3 separate regions of the Homo sapiens genome follow, and regions 2 and 3 are each linked to region 1. Evidence: promoter capture Hi-C in 16 types of primary human blood cells and fetal thymus (Javierre and others, 2016). All regions are on one chromosome and are shown on one strand. The core of a region is centred on a gene start or on the middle of the fragment in contact, and the rest is flanking DNA. Distances in the headings are between cores, read along the strand shown.

The links. Contacts are between HindIII fragments. The CHiCAGO score rates a contact against its expected background, and 5 or more counts as called.
Region 2: a contact is called between a fragment that was not itself captured here and the fragment with the promoter of KIAA0319 in region 1, in 3 of 17 cell types (megakaryocytes, M1 macrophages and total B cells). The highest score is 5.2, in megakaryocytes.
Region 3: a contact is called between a fragment that was not itself captured here and the fragment with the promoter of KIAA0319 in region 1, in 1 of 17 cell types (neutrophils). The highest score is 5.2, in neutrophils.

What each region holds. Positions count from the first base shown.
Region 1 is chr6:24,644,150-24,648,992 of GRCh38, forward strand. KIAA0319 reads right to left here and starts at 2,042. Exons shown (of 21, transcript NM_014809.4): 1 at 1,587-2,042. RefSeq lists a silencer at 1,887-2,096. The HindIII fragment of the contact is 1,579 bases long and covers 1,239-2,817 here.
Region 2 is chr6:24,442,604-24,447,446 of GRCh38, forward strand. It overlaps GPLD1 (glycosylphosphatidylinositol specific phospholipase D1), which reads right to left. Exons shown (of 25, transcript NM_001503.4): 18 at 4,235-4,376; 19 at 3,123-3,228; 20 at 2,943-3,036. Among named protein-coding and RNA genes, the nearest start is that of MRS2, 42 kb to the left of the region's middle. The HindIII fragment of the contact is 620 bases long and covers 1,766-2,385 here.
Region 3 is chr6:24,787,398-24,792,240 of GRCh38, forward strand. No RefSeq gene overlaps it. Among named protein-coding and RNA genes, the nearest start is that of ARMH2, 9.1 kb to the right of the region's middle. The HindIII fragment of the contact is 484 bases long and covers 2,563-3,046 here.

The sequences.
Region 1 (4,843 bases), core at 792-3,291:
CAAAGCTGTGCATATGTCTACATGGTCCCCGTCTGAGTGAGTGGGTGTGTCTGTGAAAGTGCACCCTGTGATGGGATAGCTTCCTGGACAGGGGAGAGGGGGGGGTTCCCACTCTGAACCAGGGAGACTCTGGCTACCCATGACCTTGAACTGTAATAATTGGGTAAATAATGATCTTGTTTTTACTAATCCTTCTTAACTGTATGTATAGATCCCATTTATTTCTATGTTTAATATTAGAAGTGTTGTGGTCTTTATTTAGAAGTTTGGTGATTTTTTTATGACCAGAAATATGCTGTAGGAACTTAACTCTTGTTTATATCAATTAGCCTGTGGTAAAATTGGTTTCCTTATACCTCGTTGTGCTTAAAGGTTCACAGTTTCCAAGAACGTATCAAGAATGTTAAGTGAGGACTTACTGTATTTATTTAAAGAGAATGCTTCCTATCTATTGGCTAGGGAAAAAAAAAAAGTCAAGAAAATTTAACAGCAACTCTATTCTTTTACATTCATACATTACCAAAGCTCTCTTTTGGCTATTTTTAATTCATAAAGATTTTGGCTGAATTATTTTCATTATTTCGAAACAAAAATTAAGTTCTTGCCTCGGCATTTTGCATTACAAATGCAAATGCATTACAAATGGTTAATACAAATAAATCAGAGTACTTAGGTAATATGTTTACATTTCCCTTTTTCAAATTACAGAGGAATTCACCTTTCTCTGTGACTCCTACGTCTATAACTGAACTGACACCTCCAGTTTTCCTCATCTGAATTAAAAATAATACTAAAAAAAGCACAAAATAAAAGTTTAGATTTGGCATAACTTTAGTAGTCTCTACAATTGTGGTCTTCTTATAATAAATTGAAGCATTTGGAAAGTGAGCATGTATTTCAGGAATAAAGAAATAAATACCAACATTTACTTCCAAAATTCTTGTGTGTGGGGGGGAACATTGTCTACAATTTATTTTTTCTGTTACTATCAAAAACATCATTCAACTTTTCAATTCAAGCAGTGGAAAAAATACTAACATTTCACCGACAAACAAAAATGTTTTGATGAACAAACCAGCAATAAAAGTGCACATGAGTATGTATATCATATTTTTCCTCCTTGTATTTAATTAACAAATGACCTTAAGATGATAACTCTCAAAATTTCAGGTTTATCCTCCCGATTAATTTGTGACATTCCTTGGAGGGAATTCAAAGGGAAGAAGAGAAAGATTTTAAGCTTCAGGTTATGGTAAGGAACAGAGACAAAATGCATTTAGCAAATAATAGGAAAGATCACATAAATAGTTCTGAATGAAGTTTAAAGAAAACGATTCCTTACTTCTAAAAAAATGCAATTCGTGAGGTTGGGAAAAGACACTCAAATTTCCCCGACTCCACCCTACTAGTCAACAATCAGTGCAGCAATCAAAAAATGCCCTTTCCTGAATGCCCAGAAGAATCTTAAGAAACTCACCTTCTGAACTCAGGGCGTCTCGATTCTACTTTTGTTGGGTATTGGCCTGCCTACTGGCTGCCCTCTTTCCTATTTCTCGGCCAGGCGCTCTGGGAAGTAGATACCGTACCTGTGGTCACTGCTGGCGACACTGAAGCTCGCCCCATGCGTTGCTGCTGGCCCTGAGCATCACTCGCCGTCCCACTTGTTCCTCCTCGTCGTCATCGCAGGTCTTACACACACACACACACACACACACACACACACACACACACACACACACGTTCACACCCTCGCGCGCGCACCTGCTGTTAAGAGGTACAGCCCCACCCCAGCAAAATCCTCGCTTCCTCTTCCCCGGGACGTAGCCCCAGAGGAGCGAATCTGGACCAAGCCCAAGACAGGCTGAAGCTACTGCTGCGCTCTCACCTCCGGCAGTGACAGCGAGCGCCGCCGCCGCTCTGCGCGGGGCCAGCCAGGCCCGCCGAGGGCAGCACAGGTGGAGCAAGGTTGCACCCCCGGGGGATCCCCGCCCACCGCCCGCGGCAGCTTCTGCAGGCTCGGGGAAAGCGCGCGCCAGTGATTCAGCGCCTTTCCGCCGCCGCGGTTACCACGGCGACGCGCGCGCACGCGCACACACGCCCTCAGGGATGTGGGGCGCGGCAGCCGCCCCTGCCCAGCTCCCCTGCTCAGCTCCCCTGCTCAGCTCCCCGGTTGCGCTCTAAGTACCCGCACCGGGGCGACACACTCCCACCCCGCAGGGGACCAAGCAAAAGTCTTTCGTGAACCTGAGCGGCCTTCATACCCTACCTGCTTTCCTTCACCAAGCCCTTCCCTGTCACCGTGGCCCTAAACAGTCTGGGGGATGAACACTCCTTCCAAATAAACACCCGGGCCAGGGTGGCTCAAGGGAGCCGTGGGTGCACTGCCTGGGTCAAACACCCTTCGCGAATGTGTCCCCCAGCTTGTCCCCAGCTTGTGTCACCCCAGCTACACAAGTTCCATTCTTCCAGTGGGAGTCTCTTTGGCCCCTACTCTGTAATTATCTTTCTATTTTGAGCAGGTGCTTTCTGACTGAGACTGGGAACCTGTGCTAGGAGGGGCTCCCATCACCTCCAGGCCTTGCAGGTTAACTGGATGCCCAGTATAGTTTGACATTTGCATCTTGAGGAACGTGATAATCTAAACCACAGAAAACTTGGGTGGAAGACTCTTGCATTTTTACTGTTTTAATAAAGATGCGAAAGCATCTAGGGATAATATCATGAGCAGAAAAGGTAGCCAGGGCATTCCTCGCACATCTCATTACTAGGAGGTATAAGTGCAGTGCTTAGGGCTGAGTCACACACTGTTGATGAATAAGCTTCTTGGCTACTCGTATTTACCGAAGAGCCTCAGACAAGTTACCTAATCTAGATAAACCTGTTTCCTCAATTATAAAATGAAGATAATAGCATTCATATAGGATGATTCTGGGAATCAAATAAGATAATGCACATTTAAAGAGTAAAAACCAGCTGGGTGCGGTGGCTCACGCCTGTAATCCTAGCACTTTGGCAGGCCGAGGCGGGCGGATCACGAGGTCAGGAGATCGAGACCATTCTGGCTAACACGGTGAAACCCCCGTCTCTACTAAAAATACAAAAAATTAACCGGGAGTGGTGGCCCGCGCCTGTAGTTCCAGCTACTTGAGAGGCTGAGGCAGGAGAATCGCTTGAATCCAGGAGGCGGAGGTTGCAGTGAGCCGAGATCGTGCCACTGCACTCCAGCCTGGGCGACAGAGCAAGACTCCGTCTCAAAATAAATAAATAAATAAATAAATAAATAAATAAATAAATAAATAAATAAATAAAAACTAAAGAGTAAAAACCTGTCCAGGACTCAAAGAGTGAAAATCAGCTTGGACTTGGAAAAGTTAGTACTGCCAATGATCAATGATCAGGCTGAGAGGACAAAGTCAGAAGCAAAATTAACAGGCAATGTTGTTTCCTCTGAAGTCACGCAGCAGGTACAAAACAACACAACTCCTTGTGTTCCATTTTTGAATGACTACTACTTTCTACCTTTGCTTTACTATTCCCATCCATAACTGGGGATACCCAATTGCTAAACTCCCTTCACCTCCTGACAGCACCCAATCCCTCATTAATCCCCCTTTCTCTCAATCTGCCTCAGAAACAGCAACCAACTGGATCCCAGCTCTGATTCCAAGACTCTCCCTGGAATCCTTTAATAGGAAGCCAAATCTTTACAAAAGACACTTCCTCCTTTCTGTGCTCACATGGCATTCCACAGGTACTCTTTCAATGCATCAAGCCAATGAATCTGATTTTGTCCCCAACGATCCTTGGCTGATTAGCCTTTAAAGAAACATATTTTTAGCACATACACACACACACAGGCTTAGCCCAGAATGTTTAACTATACCATCTTTTTAACTCAGAGACACTGTAATGAATATCTATTTTCATTTTTAATGAATATATCTATTTTGGTATTGTATGAAAATGTTAGTCTCCTTCTTTAGGACACAGATGTGAGGCTACTACCTTTCACTTCTTTTCAGCATTCAGTGGACATCCATTGAGCTCCTACTATATGCCAGACACTGCAAGAGGTAGTAAGGATAAAATGATGTATCCTTAGTATAATTAACTTTGTCTGCTCTTGCTTATGCTTTTGGTTGGGACATTTGTACAATAAAAGATAACTTATTTTGAGGGTGGGTAAAACTGAGGTTTAGGAAGGTTAAAGTACATTCCACATCAGTGGTAAAAATGGTGCTTAGCGTAATGACAGTGCTGCCTCATTGAAATACAAGACTTTAGGCCACGTACAGTGGCTCATGCCTATAATCCCAGCACTTTGTGGGCGAGGCAGGAGGATTGAGTGAGCCCCGGAGTTCGAGGCCAGCCTGGGCAACATAGCAAGATCCTCTCTGTACAAAAAACAAAAACAAATAAAAAGTAGCTGGGTGTGTGGTGCACACCTGTAATCCCAGCTACCCAAGAGTCTGAGGCTAGAGGATCACTTGTGCCCAGGAGGTTGAGACTGAAAAAAAAAAAAAAAAAAACCCAGAAGATTCTATGTTGGAATTTCACTAAGCAGGAAGGTAAGGCAAGCAAAGCTACTACACTGGAAAAACTTTGAAAAATTCCAAGTAAAAAACTCAAGATATAGCAAATTAGTAGGTTAATTCATTGATAACTATTGCTCATGAAAGCAGACTAAAAGTGGTTTTTTTTGAGACAGTCTTGCTCTGTCGCCCAGGCTGGAGTGCAGTGGCACGATCTCGGCTTACTGCAACCTCCGCCTCCCAGGGTCAAGTGATTCTCCTGCCTCAGCCTCCTGAGTAGCTTGGATTACAGGCACGTGTCACCACGCCTG
Region 2 (4,843 bases), core at 826-3,325, 200 kb before region 1:
CCAGCTAATTTTTTGTGTTTTTAGTAGAGACAGGGTTTCACTGTGTTAGCCAGGATGGTCTCGATCACCTGACCTCATGATCCACCCACCTCAGCCTCCCAAAGTGCTAAGATTACAGGCATGAGCCACTGCGCCTGGCCCAATTTTTAAAATTTTTTGTAGAGACAGGGTCTCACTGTGTTGCCCAGGCTGGTCTTGAACTCTTGGCCTCCAGTGATCCTCCTGCCTTAGCCTCCCAAAGTGCTGCGATTACAGGCATGACCCACCATGCCTGACCTTCTATTTTATATTGGACTTTATCATAGGAAAAAAAATTATCAAGAGAGTAAGGGCACCAAAACCAAGAAAGTTTGAGAAACTCTAATTCACAACACTTGGGTAGAAAGAGTGGTGAAGAAAATAAAGTTAATAATGTGTGTTGCAAGAGCTTAGAAATCATTCCCTAGACTCTGAAAAGCAAAAATGATTCTGTGGCTGACTGCTATGGTTACTACTTGAGACCGTCATCACAGCAATTACTACTGTTACTGCTTGAGAGCGTCATTACAAGACTGAACGAAGGAGGACGAACGTAGAAATGAAAACTTGAAGCAAAAGAAACTGTTTTAAAGGAAGGGGAACCGAGGAAGAAGAGAGCTCCCGGCTTCTAGTGAGCAAAGGCAGCTAGCTCCCGAGCTTCCACAGCCCTTCCCATTTATTGGTTAGCAAAAGCAGGGAGGAGGAGGTAACGATTGGTCAGCTGCTTAATTGATCACAGGTTCATATTATTATTAACAGGCTTCAGATGTGCCTAATCACAAGAAACACGGCACTTGGGGCGTGACTGCCCTCAGCTTTCCTTCTGGGTGGCAAATGCAGTTTGTCAGTTTGCCAACATTCTGCATTTATGAGAAACAGTTTTGCTGCTTACTCAAATAGCCTCCAGTGGTATACTGAGTTATCACGACCCTCATTCTTTTGGCTTCCAACATGATTCCAAAGCTAAGTCAGCACTTTTTTTTTGTTATAATGCTGTGTCTTCGATTTAATGAAAAATTTAGCCATTCCTTTGCCTAATCCACTTGTTTTTTTGTTTTTTTGTTTTTGAGACTGAGTCTCACTCTGTCACCCAGGCTGGAGTGCAGTGGTGTCATCTTGGCTCAGTGCAACCTCTGCCTCCAGGGTTCAAGCAATTGTTGTGGTTCAGGCTCAGGAGTAGCTGGGATTACAGGAGCGTGCCACTATGCCTGGCTAATTTGTGTATTTTTAGTAGGTTTAGACAGGTTTCACCATGTTGGCCAGGCTGGTCTCTAACTCCTGACCTCAACTGATCCACCCACCTCTGCCTCCCAAAGTGCCAGGATTACAGGCGTGAGCCACTGCACCCCGCCTGTCTGACCCACTTCTGCTTATTATTCAAATCTTTCCCATATTGCAAGAAACAACAATCTTTCTGAAAAATAGTTTGATGATATATAACAAGAGCTTTTAGAAAGATTAGAACCTCTACTCCAGTAATTCCATCTCCAGGAATCTATCCAAAAAACTAATCAGAAAGGCAGTCAAAGACTAGGTACATGAGTGTTCAATAATTACTTATTCACAATAGTGTGAAACTGGAAACGAGCCTACAATTCCAGCAACAGGATGATGTTAGTAAATGCTGGCATTAAAAAAATGCAATGCAGATATCAAAAGTCATGTTTTAGAAGAATATTTACTAACATGAGAATGTGCTTAAGATATAAGTAAAAAAATTAGGCATGACAATATCATATATAGTATAAGCTTCAGTTTTTAAATATCTGGGTAAGGGGTGTTTTTTTTTTCCTTCTATATATTTCCTTGTATTTTCAGAAGTTTCCACAATAAGCATAATTCACCTTTATAATCTGGGAGGAAATGGTTCTTATTTATTTTTTTTTTTAAAGACTATCTTTCCCATAAAGTAAACAAAATAATGGTTTATATAAAGTATGTTTTCAGGGGTGGGTGCAGTGGATCATGCCTGTAATCCCAGCACTTTGGGAGACCAAGGTGGGAGGATTACTTGAGCCCAGGAGTTAGAGACCAGTCTGGCCAACATGTTGAGACCCTCTCGCTACAAAAAATAAAAAATTAGATAATGTGGTGGCTGACTGCCTGTAGTCGCAGCTACTCAGGAGGCTGAGGTGCAAGGTTCACTTTGCCCAGGAGGTCAAGGCTGCCATAAGCCATAATCACACCGCTGCACTCCAGCCTGGGCGACACAGCAAGACTGTCTCAAAAAAGAAAAATAAAAGATAGGTCCTCATAGTGGACCTATTCCTAGTGAACTGACTTATACAATTTTTCTCTGGCTCCAAGTTCCATGGGATAGGGGCTTTAAAAATACACTAAGTTACTTTCATATGTCATTTTCAACAAAGCTTTGAAACACAAATTTTATTTTATCTTATTTTATTTTATTTTTATTTTATTTTTGAGATGAAGTCTTGCTCTGTTGCCCAGGCTGGAGTGCAGTGGCATGATCTTGGCTTACTGCAACTTCTGCCTCCCAGATTCAAGCGATTCTCCTGCCTCAGCCTCCCGAGTAGCTGGGATTACAGGTATGCACCACCACACCTGGCTAATTTTTGTATTTTTAGTAGAGGCAAAGTTTCACCATGTTGCCAGGCTGGTCTCCAACTCCTGACCTCAAGTGATTCTCTCACCTTGGCCTCCCAAAGTGCTGGGATTACAGGTGTGAGCCACCGCACCCGGCCTGAAATAGGTATTTACAATTTCAGTTTTGTAGATGGTGATACAAAAGTTCTGAGAGGTTAAGTAACTTCCCCAAAGTTACACAGAATGTTATTAATGAAAAAAGGAAATATTGAAACCTAGATCTGTTCAGCTCCAGATCTCATCACTTTCCTCCAATACGACATGTACAAGCAGCCACATGACTGAAAGGAAGCACAGTTTCACAGTGTGTGACCTACCGTACGTAGGGGCTCCAACCAGCAGCACTTGTTTCAGAGTCCCATTCATCAGTACGTGGCCACTGGAAAGGGAAGTACCCAGTTTCCCCATTGCCTGTGAGACACAATAAATCAATATTGTATAGGTGAGAAAACTTCCTTGGAGTGTCCACTCTCCTGTGTGGGGAGGGCTTGTCATACCTTGTCTCCAGAAATGGTAAACCAGCTTTGGCCGTTTGGTGGGAAGTAGCCATACACCCTCCCAAGGCTCTTTTTCTCATCTCGGATGTGTAACAAATGGCCCAGCCTAGAATGAAGCACACTGGGCTTAGCTGCCAGGGCACAAGACTGACAGCTGGCCAGGTACTCAGGAGCAAGGAAAGGAAATGCACCTCCCCCCATCCAGGCCTCCCAGCAGGCTCTGTCTCTGCGACCCCAGGCCTGGAAGTGTGGGGACTATTGGAGTTAATCGCAACATCCAGGCTCTCCAGGTGCCACACCCACCATCCTGCCTCCCAACTGACAGGCCTCCCAGCAGACTCTCTGGGATAGAGATATAGGGGTACCTACTGTTATGGGCTCAGTGGTGGTCCCCCCGATCCCTACACTGAAGCCCTAACCCCCAGTATCTCTGAATGTGACTACTTGAAGACAGAGTCTTTAAAGAGGTGATTAAGTTACGATGAGGTCATTTGGGTGGATCCTGATCCAATAGGACTGGTGTCTTTCAAAGAAGAGGAGAGGCAGGAGGATCACTTGAGGCCAGTTTGAGACGAGCCTGGGCAACACTGCAAAAACCCATCCCTATAAAAATGTTTTTAAATTAAAAAAAAAAATTAGCTAGGCATGGGCACACACGACTTGTAGTCCCAGCTATTCAGGAGGCCGAGGCAGGAGGACGAGTTCGAGCCTGCAGTGAGTTACCACTGCCCTCTGCCCTTTGCAACAGAGTGAACCCTCACCCCCTCCTCCCAAAAGAAAAAACAGAAGTGAGGAATGGGGCACAGACACACAGAGAGGGAAGACAGCCATCTGCAAGCCAAGGAGACAGGCCTCAGGAGAAACCAACCCTCTGACCTCAACCTTGATCTTGGACGTCTAGCTTCCAGAACTGTGAGAAAATAATACATTTGTCTATTGTATTTTTAAATTTCTAAGGAGGAGAATTTGCAATCTTGCCCAGAGCCTTGGCTTTTCCTTCAAAAGTCAAGCATTTCCTAGCCCTTTTCCCTCAGCCTCATGCTCAGTGCGCTCCATAGCAGCAGGTACCTGCCCCTGTGTTCATGGTTCCCAGCCCCCAGCATCAGCCTCACCTGCTGGCATTCTTCCAGGTCGGGCTCCCAACCAACAGCAAGGTTCTGTTGTCCACAGTGACACCGTGAAGGGAATATCCAAACCAGGAGAAGTCTTCCTCGCCTCTCACCGTCCAGTTGGCTGCCTCCACGTTCAGTTTTTCTAAAGAAGACAACTCATCCTTTTTACTAATACTTTAAGTGAGAGGACTACTGGGATGAAAAGAAAGGGTCCTTCTCGTAGCCTAATAGAAGTGGGTTCATTTTGCTGAGTTTTTGCCAGAGGTCTTATATGTCCCCATGCTGATCCCAGGACCCCAATGTCATTGAATCTCACTCTTCATACAAGAAATACATTTCTAGAGCTCACTTCTGTGGAGCAGAGGATGCTATTTAAAAAGGCTCTGGGCCAGGTGCGGTGGCTCACACCTGTAATCCCAGCACTTTGGGACGCCGAGGTGGGTGGATCACCAGAGGTCAGGAGTTCAAGACCAGCCTGACCAATATGATGAAACCCCGTCTCTACTAAAAATACAAAAATTAGCCGGGCATGGTGGCATGCGCCTGTAGTCCCCACCTGTAGTCCCAGCTACTCAGGAGGCTGAGACAGAATTGCTTAAACCTGGGAGG
Region 3 (4,843 bases), core at 1,555-4,054, 140 kb after region 1:
GCTATTATTAATCTATAACAACATTGTCCAGTAGAACTTATTGGGATGATGAGAATATCTGCTGTACAGTATGGTAGCCATTTCTGTGTGGCTGTTTAGCACTTGAAGTGTGGCTAGTGTGAATGAGGTATGGACATTTTAATTTAAGTCACTACAAGAAGCTAGTGGCAATTACGTTAGTGTGGCTCTGTGTGTTTCAGGTGTGGATCACTAGCCTAAAGATAGGATTAATAGGTAAATTAATTTTAAAGGAATTGAAGAATATTCTGGATTAGAGCATGAGGAGACTCAGTTGAGAGGCCTTTAGCATGGTTAAGAAAGAAAATAGGTAAGTAGAATAGGGACTTGACAAATAGAAAGTATTTTTGTAAAATGCCAGAATTTGATGGTGGGGAGCAAAAGGAGAGGGAATTGAAGGGGATTAAAAAACTAAGGTAGTAGCTAAAACCATAAAACTTCTAGATTATATAGAAAAGTTCTTAGTGACTTTGGGTTTGGCAGAGAGTTCTCAAATAGGACACAAAAAAGCATCAACTTCAAATTAAACGTTGTAAATTTTAAAAACTTTTTGAAAGACAAGCAAATGAAAAGGCAAGAACAGACTGGGGGAACATATTTGCAGAACATAGCCAACAAAGGATTTGTATCTATAAAGAACTAGGGTATGTATGAGATGGAAACTAAGTGCATGAAAAGATGCTCAACATTAGTCATTAAGGAAGTGCAAATTAAATGACAACCAGATACTGCTACATACCTTTCAGAATTGTTTTAAGTTTGAAAAATAAAAACAACTCCATCGAGTGTTAAGGATGTGAAACATCTGAAACCCTCCTGCAGTGGTGGTGGCAGTGCTAAATGCTACAACTGCTGTGGAAAAGTTGAACAATTCCTTAAAAGTTATACATACACATTTTATATGACTCAGCCATTCCACCCCTGGGTATTTACCCAAGAGAAACGAAAGCATATGTCCACATGAAGACTAGTTCACACATTTTCATAGCTTTATTTGTAATAGCCCAAATATCCATTGGTAACTGAGTGGATAAATTATGGTATAACTATACAGTGGAATACTATTTAGCAATAAAAAGGGGACAAAAATTGGTACACGCCACATGGACGAATCTCAATGTTGTGTGAAAGAAGCCAGGTAAATACATACTGTATGCTTCTATTTATTTAAAATCACAAAACTACAAAGTATAATGAGAAAGCAGATTAGTAGTTGCCTAAGGGTCATGTAGGGGCTGTTTTGGGGGACATATTTTAAGCTTCTAGTCCCTGGGAACTGACCCTAGTGATGGAGAATTTGTAGGAATTTCCTGTGGAAGATGAGTCTGATTTTTAATTAGGTATCAAATGTTAGTATAGCATGTCAGCCGGGTGTGATGGCTACGCCTGTAATCCCTACACTTTGGGAGGCTGAGGCAGGCAGATCACTTGAGGACAGGAGTTCAACATCAGCCTGGCTAACATGGCAAAATGCTTTGTCTACTAAAAATACAAAAGATTAGTTGGGCGTGGTGGTGCACACCTGTAGTCACAGCTCTTCGGGAGGCTGAGGCACACAAGAATTGCTTGAATCTGGGAGGCAGAAGTTGCAGTGAGCATAGATTGCGCCACTGCACTCCAGCCTCGGCAACAGAGTGAGGCTCTGTCTCAACAAAACAAAAAACATGTCAATGAAAATACCTTGGAGAAGGGGTCAGGGAGTCAATCAAGCCTGGCCCATTAGAACAAGTTCTTTGAAGTTGGTTTAATAAAATGCAGTCGAGCTTCGTTAAGGAAATGGCAAATGGATAAGAATCAGTTGGAAAAACAGTATGCATGAAGCCTGGATTAGACTGAACTAATTTGTCAATATATTTTACAAGGCTAGCATAACTGATATCAAGATTTGAGGATGGACCAGCCAGGTGTGGTGGCTTATGCCTGTAATCCCAGCACTTTGGGAGGCCCAGGTGGGCAGATCACCTGAGGTCAGGAATTCAGGACCAGCCTGACAAACATGGTGAAAACCTGTCTACTAAAAATACAAAATTAGCCAGGCGTGATGGTGCATGCCTGTAGTCCCAGCTATTTGGGAAGCTGAGGCAGGAGAATTGCTTGAACCCAGGAGGTAGAGGATGCAGTGAGCCAAGGTCGCGTCTTTGCACTCCAGCCTGGGCAACGAGCGAAACCTCATCTCAAAAAAAAAAAAAAAAAAAAAAAAAAGAAGGTAATGAGGATGGACCGTAAGGTTGGAGTAGGGGAATCTAGAGCCTTATTAATACAGATTGAAAAATCATAAATAAAATGGCAAGTCTAATCTACTAAAAGATAAAACGATGACCAAGTTAGGGTTTATCTCAGGAATGCAAGACTGCTATAATATTAGTAAACATGAAGTTCTTTATATTAAAGGGGAAAAAGCATATCATCTTAATAGATGGTAAAATAGCATTGATAAAATTCAACACCCTTTCTGGTAAAAACCCTTGGTAAGCTAGGAAAAGAAAAGAATTTTAACCTGAAATAAACTATGCTACCCATGCTTAACATAATGCTTAATGGTGAAGCTTTGGAATTAGTTTCAAGGTCAAGAGCTAGAAAAGGATGGACCACAATTATTTCCAATTCTTTTGGAGGTGGATGCAATGAGACCAAATAAAGGATAATTATAGGAAGGGAAGAGAAAAGCTAATCCAAGAGCAGATAGAAATGAATTTTAAGACTACACCATGGGTAAGATATCTCCCCCAAATAAACTGACGTGTTATTAGAAGAAAGAATAAATTCTAGTGAGCCAAAACGCAACAAACGTCCACCACACTGCCTTACGGCCCTCGTAATTTTGGTTTGTTTAGAAAACTTCCTTGCCTATCCCACACCCTTCAAGATATTTCAGTTGACTTTTAGGTTGTAACTAATTAGGTTGTTAGGTCAACCAAGAAGGATAAGAATTGGTGTATACATATCTGAGCTCCTTGGGACCTCTGGATGAAATAATTCTTAAGGCATGTGTGTTGTGTGTTTACCAGATGGTTCCCCAGCAGGATTAAGCTTCCGTTTACCTACAGTGGCAGCTTTCTTCATAATACATCTTTTATTGGCTTTCTTCCCTTCCCTATTGCTAGTTCCCGAGATCACCTCCCAAATAATATCTTTCAAATCCTTAAGCAAATCCTCTGATTTGCTTCTAGCAAAACTCAAAAGTTGGGAGAGATGAACTTAGGAGGGACAGCAAAGGAAAACAAAATCACTGTTGTTAAAGCTTTGGTAAGCCAGCTTAAAATTCAAGGTTTACAGTAAAAATGCCTCAGCTCGAATCTGAACCTTGTATCTTACCTCCTTCAACTTAAAGAGGTTCCAGAGACCAAAAAGGAATTTGAATAGAACATATTATTAGACTACCTTATAAGCTAATCTTCTGTAGATAAAATGTTAACCAAAATTTCTGTAAACATTGTCACAGAGAGGCCTTCAGCAATTTCTGGTTAAACATGTTAATTGAACAGAGCCATTTAATTTCTGTCTTTCCCAAACATTATTAAAATGACAGTAAGCTGTAAAAAACATCATAATCCCGTGCTGACCAAGCAGAGTCAACAGAAGTTGAGGCAAAAGTCACAATGCAGGGAACAGAATAAAACAAAAGCAAACGATGTAAGTATGGCTAAGCAATTCCATTTCTAGAAATTTATTCAACAGATATGCTCACACATGTGAAATTACACATATTTAAGGTTATTCATTACAACTTTGAACTATCAAAATATTGGAAATAACTTAAATGTTCATCAGTATAGGACTGGTTGTATAAATTACAGTTCACCCTTGAACAAGGCAGCCATTAGGGAAGCCAACACCTGTGCAGTTGAAAATCTGCATATAAATTTTTCTTTTCTTTTTTTTTTTTTTTTTTTTGAGACAGTCTCAGCTCTGTCGCCCAGGCTGGAGTGCAGTGGCACCATCTCAGCTTACTGCAACCTCCGCCTCCTGGGTTCAAGAGATTCTCCTGCCTCAGCCTCCCGAGTACCTGTGACTACAGGCGCGTGCCACCACGCCTGGCTAATATAAATTTTCTTTGGCTATCTTCTGCTTTTAAAATTTAGATAATTTTTCTTTTTTCTTTTTTTTTCTTTTTTTGAGATGGAGTCTGGCTCTATCACCCAGGCTTGCGTGCAGTGGTGTGATCTTGGCTCACTGCAACCTCTGCTTCTGGCTTCCAGTGATTCTCCTGCCTCAGCCTCCCGAGTAGCTGGGATTACAGGCACACACCACCATGTTTGGCTAATTTTTGTATTTTTAGTAGAGATGGGGGTTTCACCATGTTGGCCAGGCTGGTCTCAAACTCCTGGACTCAGGTGATCTGCCCACCTCAGCCTCCCAAAGTGCCAGGATTGCAGGCGTGAGCCACCACACCTGACCTAGATAAATTCTCTGTTTTGAAATTGTTATTTGAGACGGTCTCACTCTGTCACCTGGAGTGCAGTGGCACAATTTTGGCTCACTACAACCTCTGCCTCCTGGGCTCAAGCGATCCTCCTGCCTCAGCCTCCCAAGTAGCTGGGACTATAGGCACACACCACCACACCTGGCTGATTTTTTTTGTAGAGATGTCTCACTATGTTGCCAAGACGGGTCTCGAACTCCTCGATTCAAGCAATCCTCCCATCTAGGCCTCCCAAAGTGTTAGGATTACAGGCATGAGCCCCACCCCACCCGGCTGAAATTAGTTTTTTATTTGAGGCAAGGTCTTATGTTTTTTAGGCTGGGCTCAAGTGATCCACCTGCTTCAGTCTTACAGGTAGCTGAGATTACAGGCATGCCACTATGCTCAGCCTTGCATATAATT